Regions from separate parts of the Homo sapiens genome. Here region 2 is linked to region 1. The links are contacts of gene promoters, found by promoter capture Hi-C in blood cells and fetal thymus (Javierre and others, 2016). All regions are on one chromosome and are shown on one strand. The core of a region is centred on a gene start or on the middle of the fragment in contact, and the rest is flanking DNA. Distances in the headings are between cores, read along the strand shown. Region 1 holds the start of ZNHIT2 (zinc finger HIT-type containing 2). Region 2 holds the start of GPHA2 (glycoprotein hormone subunit alpha 2).

The links. The method cuts DNA at HindIII sites, captures the fragments that hold promoters and counts their contacts. A CHiCAGO score of 5 or more calls a contact.
Region 2: the fragment with the promoter of GPHA2 here is called in contact with a fragment that was not itself captured in region 1 in 1 of 17 cell types (M0 macrophages); the score reaches 5.6 in M0 macrophages.

The regions. Positions count from the first base shown.
Region 1 is chr11:65,116,581-65,119,678 of GRCh38, forward strand. ZNHIT2 (zinc finger HIT-type containing 2) reads right to left here and starts at 1,121. Exons shown (of 1, transcript NM_014205.4): 1 at 1-1,121. The coding sequence starts at 1,073. RefSeq lists enhancers at 541-1,084, 1,077-1,371. The HindIII fragment of the contact is 956 bases long and covers 1,191-2,146 here.
Region 2 is chr11:64,934,464-64,937,561 of GRCh38, forward strand. It overlaps GPHA2 (glycoprotein hormone subunit alpha 2), which reads right to left and starts at 1,430. Exons shown (of 4, transcript NM_130769.4): 1 at 1,371-1,430; 2 at 895-997; 3 at 528-712; 4 at 8-411. The coding sequence starts at 997. The coding sequence ends at 310. PPP2R5B (protein phosphatase 2 regulatory subunit B'beta) reads left to right here. Exons shown (of 14, transcript NM_006244.4): 14 at 1-12. The HindIII fragment of the contact is 3,228 bases long and covers 1-2,832 here.

The DNA.
Region 1 (3,098 bases), core at 419-2,918:
GCCAGGGGTGTGAGGGCCGCCTCATTTTCGTTGGTCCAGGCCAGGAGGAACTGGCACTTTTTCCGGGCCCGGTAAAGATGATCTCGCTCTTCTCTAGCCACGGCCTGTTTCCGGGCACGGCCCAGGGTCTGTGCCAGGTCCCCCAGTGCTGCCAGCGTGTAGCCTTTCTGGTTGGTCGGGCCCTCGCCCAGCAGGATGCGGGCGACCTCGTGCATAGCCCCTCGTGTGCCCAGGGGCCCCGGCGGGTGCTCGCCTGCTTCCAGCACGTGGGCTGCCGCCTGCAGGGCTTCTTCCGCAGAGGCGAAGACTTGCTGGGCACCCAGGGCTCCGGAAACGCCGAGCAGTGTGGCACAGAAGTCAGAGAGCAGCGCGTCGTCACCGCCGTGATACAGGGCGAGAGTATGCGCGTAGGCGAACAGCACATTGGGCAGCTGGAAGCGCACGAGCGGCGAGACTGGGCCGCGGCTCAGGCTGACTATCGCGGGGATGCGGGTGGGTACGACGGGCGTGCAGGCCCCCGGGACATCTCCAAGAACCCGCTCGGCGGCCGCGGGCTCCGCGGCGGAGGCATCTTTCACAGAATCCGGCGGGGTCCTCGCAGGGGCGAGCTCCAGCTCCGCGGCGTCACTACCCGGGGCATTATCCAGCTCCTCCAGAAGCTGCGGTCCGGCTCCGCGGTTCCACCACCACGGCCGCCATGGAGGCAGCAGCCGCCCGGCCTCACCGCGGCTCAGCAGCCGCTCGAAGGCAGCTTTTTCGCCCGGCGCCAGCCGCTCCCAGAGTCCCGATAGGCCGCCGGGCGCCGGGCCGGAGCTGAGGCCTGCTTCCCCAGGCTCGTCCTCGGTCTCGCGTTGCTGACGCAGCCGGCGTAGGGCGCTTGCTAGGCGGCTGGGAGGAGCGCTGCAACCGCGGAGCTCTCCCAGCACCTGGTCACGGTAGAAGTTTTCTGCGCAGGTGCCATGCGTCCGGTAGCAGCGCAGCGAGCAGTAGGGCGCATTACAGCGAGGGCAGGTGTAACGCGCTGGCTGGACCTCCCCCGCCGGGCAGAAGCCACAGGGCCCGGCCGGCTCCATGGCAACTGGCACCGCGATCTACCTGCGAACGCACGCCGGTGGTAGTTCGAAACTTCCGGGGCTTCTTCGATTACTTCCGGTTCGCAGCGCGGCCGACGGCGCGCTGTGTTTTCGCAAAGCTTCCGAGGATTCTCGGCAATTTCCGCCCACGCCCGAAAGCCAAGCCCCACCCCTTTCCCTAGTAGGGCGAGAGCAGGCCCAGAAGCCGGGCGTCAGGTACGAGCCCCGCCCTATGCGATGACGCAAGGAGCGAAAAAATGGGTCTGGCGAGCGCTTCGCCGGTGCCACGTCTCCCCCTAGTGGTCACACCAAAACGTGGCCCGATCATCTAAAGAGAAAACCCTCTTTTTAGCACTACAATGTGCTGTGGCATAAATCCATCTTTACTAGGCACCTACTCTGGGCCACTAATTGTGCCAAGCCTACGGGAGGCGATGCATCCCTGCGCTGGACACAGACAAATAAAATGCACTAGGGGACACAGACAAATAAAAGGACAGTTAGGGCCAGGTACGGTGGGTCACGCCGGTAATCCCAGCATTTTGGGAGGCCGAGGCGGGCAGATGACCTGAGGTCAGGAGTTTGAGACCAGCCTGACCAACATGGAGAAACCCCGTCTCTACTAAGAATACAAAATTAGCCGGGCGTGGGGGACGGGTGCTTGTAGTCCCAGCTACTCCTGAGGCTGAGGCAGGGGAATCGCTTGAACCCGGGAGGTGGAGGCTGCAGTTAGCCGAGATCGCGCCACCGCTCTCCAGCCTGCGAGCCTGGGCCACAGAGAGAAACTCCACCTCAAAAAGATAAATAGAAAGCAGCATTTAAGAAATATCTGAGCTCCTATGATTTTTTTCCTCCAAAACTGCCTCTTCTTTTCATTAAGTATCTTCTCATTAAATACCACTATTCATCCATCTTATTAAGTGCAGGCCCCATTCTAGGTGCCAAGAACACAATGCACATCAAAGGGAGCCGGGGGTCCCTGTTCTAATAGAGCTCACTCTTGTGGTGGAGTGGGGGGTGTGATGAACCAAACTGTGAGTGTTCTTTGCATCCCTGCTACTACTGGTGGTCTAAGCTTCCTGACCCCTCATGTGGATGACAACACATTAAGTGTTTTTCCTAACTTTCTTGCCAGCCCTCCAGAAAAACCTGCCAGAGAAATTAGATCACAAGTCAGATGAGATCCATCTGTTACTCAAAACCCTTCTGCGACCCTCCATTGCACTTGGACTCAAACCCAAACTCCTCTCTATGGCTGACAAGGCCTTGCAGGATCTGCCCGCCCCCAGCCCTAGACATCACCTCTTCCCCATCTTCACACAGTCCTCTAGGCTTGAAATATTCCCCTACCTGATCACTTGACTGGTTCATCTCAGGTCTCACTCACGTCATTTAAACAGGACCTCTCGGCTGGGCACAGCGGCTGACACCTGTAATCTCAGCACTTTGGGAGGCCAAGGTGGGCGGATCACTTGAGCCCAGTTCAAGACCAGCCTGGGCAACATAGCAAAACCCTGTCTCTACAAAAAAGTACAAAAAATTAGCCAGGTGTGGCGGTGCATGCCTGTAGTCCTCAGCTACTTTGGAGGCTGAGTAGGATCACCTGGGCCCAGGAGTTGGCGGCTGCAGTGAGCCATGATTGTGCAACTGCACTCCAGCCTGGATGAGAGAGACCTTGTCTCAAAAACAAAAAAGAAAAGGCCGGGCACTGTGGCTCATGGCTGTAATCCCAGTACTTTGGGAGGCCGAGGTGGGCGATCACGAGGTCAAGAGATCGAGACCATCCTGGCCAACATGGGGAAACCCCATGTCTACTAAAAATACAAAAATTAGCTGGGCGTGGTGGCACATGCCTGTAGTCCCAGCTACTCAGGGGGCTGAGGCAGGAGAATGGCGTGAACCCGGGAGGCTGAGGTTGCAGTGAGCTCGGATTGTGCCACTGCACTCCAGCCTGGCGACAGTGCGAGACTCTGTCTCAATAAAATAAAATAAAGAAAAAAGAAAAACAAAAAAAGAGGCCCTCTC
Region 2 (3,098 bases), core at 180-2,679, 180 kb before region 1:
AGAGAAATTCAAGAACTGCTTGCTTTATTTAGGGGTAAGGGCAAAGAGGGAAGTAAAATGATGAAAGATTGGTTTAGAAGGGCCAGGCAGAGGCAGGGAAGAAGCAGAAACTCCCCTCTTCTCAGGTGACAGTCACAAAATCTTACAAAGGATCAAAGCTGGAACAACCCTCCCCTTATTTAAAAAAATTCCATAGCAAGTAACCATCAGGGCTGGAGCTCCTTCCAGTTTTTGAATCTTGAACACAGGTTTCCCCCACCAGAACGTCAAGCCCTGTGACCCAGGGGAGGAAGGAGGGGAGAGGATGGGCTAGTAGCGAGAGAGGCGACACATGTCACACTGGCAGGCCCTGGCCGTGAAGATCTCGAGCTCCTCCCTCCGGCTCCCCACACACTGCAGCTGTACTTTGACCTGCGGGAGAGGGGAGTCCGTGCTGCAGTCCCCTTTCTCAGGGCTGTCTAGGATCTCCATCTCTCTGGTCTTCCCGCGACCCCAGCGTCCATCCACCGGGCCCGGGCCCTCCTCACCTTCTTCAGGCCACTGATGGTGCAGCACTGAGAGACGGAGGTGATGTTGTGTCGGTAACCACTGGCCACCAGCACAGAGTACCGAGAAGGGAAGGCGCTGGACTCACAGTGGCCCACACAGGCCTGTGCCACGTGGGAGCCCTGGCAGGTGCCTTGGCGGTCACTTCGCACTGTCACATTGAAGGCTAGAAGGAGATAGGCAAGCAGTAGACGGCGCCTCTGCCAAGGTTTGCCTCGCCCCAGCTCCCGTTGCCTGTGCCTCAGTGTGGGGCCCTTTAGGGTGCTGCCTGCCCCACCGTCCACTCAGCTCTTTGCTCCCACCCAGAACCTCCACTGCTCCTAGCCCTCCGGTCCCAGAGGTACTCACGGTGCAAGTGGCAGCCTGGGATGACTGCCTCCTGGCCCCAGGCTTCAGTGACTGCCAGGACCAGCAGATAGAGGACCAGGGTTTGAGGGGACGCCATAGGCATCTGAAACACAGTGGGGAGATGTCTCTACGTGGGTGTGCAGGTGGGATGGCGAGTTCTTTAAATACTGCATTCCAGGTGAGTGAGCCAGGGCTGGCTGGTCTGACAGGTGAGGTGTGCCTGAATGGTGCTGCCTTTTCCCTGTATCTGCCTTTGTGTGTGTGTGTGTGTGTGTATGGGTGTGAGTGTGAGCAGCTGTCTCTGGAAAGGACCTGTGTGTCAGCCCTCTGTGCAGTGATTCTCCCTTCCCTGGAATTTTCTTCGCCATCTGGAGCGCAAACATCTTCCTCCCTCCATCTGCCCCATCTTGGCCTGCAGGGCCCTCGTCCACATTCCCAGACCCTCCCCAGAGCTCCTCCTGCCTCAGCGAGCTCACCACTTCCGAGGCCCAGGAACAGAGCGGCTTGCAGTTTTCCTGTGCCTCCTGCTGGTCTCCAGCTTGGTGCTGGCTCTCCAGGCTTTTATTTGCCAGCATTTTGGAGCCACGCCCTCTTGGAGATCGGCTTTCAAACCAGCCTCCCCTGCCTGAAGCCTCAGAGCGATCCCACCTGGGGGATCTTGCTCTTTGAGGTGCGGTCCTCGGAGAGCAGCTCCTGCTGCTTTCTGCTTCTTTCTGTCCAAAAAGCTACCCACAGCCCAGGCCTCGATAAGTCAGATGTGGAGAGAAGCCTAGGAGCTGGTGGAGTGTGCAGCGTGTGTGCAGCTGACGACACAGGGGTCAAGACTCTTGGCTGAGTTGTGGACACCTGGGTTCTCTTTGCTCTGTGACCTTGGACAGAACATTTCCCTGTTCAGGGCCTGATCACCCCTAACTTTATTATTATTTATTACTATTATTTTGAGAGGGTCTGGCTCTGTCACCTAGGCTGGAGTGTGGTGGTGTTATCTCGGCTCACTGCAACCTCCACCTCCCAGCCTCCCAGACTCAAGCCATCCTCCCCCTTAGCCTCCTGAGTAGCTGGGACCACAGGCACACCACTATGACCAGCTAACTTTTGTATTTTTTTGTAGAGACAGGATTTTGCCATGTTGCCCATGGTGGTCTTGAACTGCTAAGCTCAAGTGATCCGCCTGCTTAGGCCTCCCAAAGTGCTAGAATTACAGGCATGAGACACTGTGCCTGGCCACACCCCTAATTTTAAAACCACTAAACTCAGTCCTGCTTGCCTTTTTCTAACTGCAAAGGAAAGGGATTGGGGAAGGAGATTCTTAGGGACAAGGGAAATTATACCAGTGGAGGTCTCCTGAGATGTGCTTGGTGGCAGGGCCGGGGGTTTGGGGGTTGCTGTCTGTTTCAGAGTTGCATGGCCACGGTATCAGTGGATGATTCGCATCCTGTGCTACAGAGTAACGTTCTGAGCTGGAGTGCTCCCCTAGCCCTGGAATAACAGGGACCTGACTCCTGAAAGGGCCTGAAGTTATCAACCCCAGCAAAGCTGATCTATTTGTCCAACTCTGGTTTTATAGATGAGGCAACTAAGGCTCAAAGAAAGAAAGTTACTAAAAGTCACCCAGCTAGTTAATGTTAGGGCTGATTTCAAATTCAAATCTGCTGTCCATCCATGGTGCTAAACTACACTTGAGCAAGAATGTGGCAAGCTGGAGAAAGACCCCCAGGCAGCAGTGGCCAGAGGGGTTGGGGCAAGGTGGAGAGCCAAAGGAAGCCTGTGGTGATTCTGGGCAGCCCCGCTTTGGGGTCATTGCCTCACTGATCTGCTCAGAAAGAGCAGGGCCAGTCACAGACTGCTAGAGCTAGAAGGCACTTTATAACTCACCAAATCCTACCCCCTCATTTTCTGGATGAGAAAATAAGAGCTCAGCGGAAAACAACTTCCCAAAGCTTCACTGTAAGCTAGTCAGAGTCAGGGCGGGCACTCACAGCTCCAGATTTGGAGCTGTGCTTCTTAGCAGCTTTGTAAAACAGGCCATGTTTGGGACAGTCGAGTAAAGGCTGTAAACGCAATTTGAGAGGAAGTGATGTTACTAATGTCACTAATCCTTAAATTCCCACACCCTACGGTTTCCCCATCAGCCCCCATCCCCTCAAGACCTGGGTCCTTGTTTGCCAGGTCCTCCGCAGCAGTCCACCTCTTCTCTTCTCCCC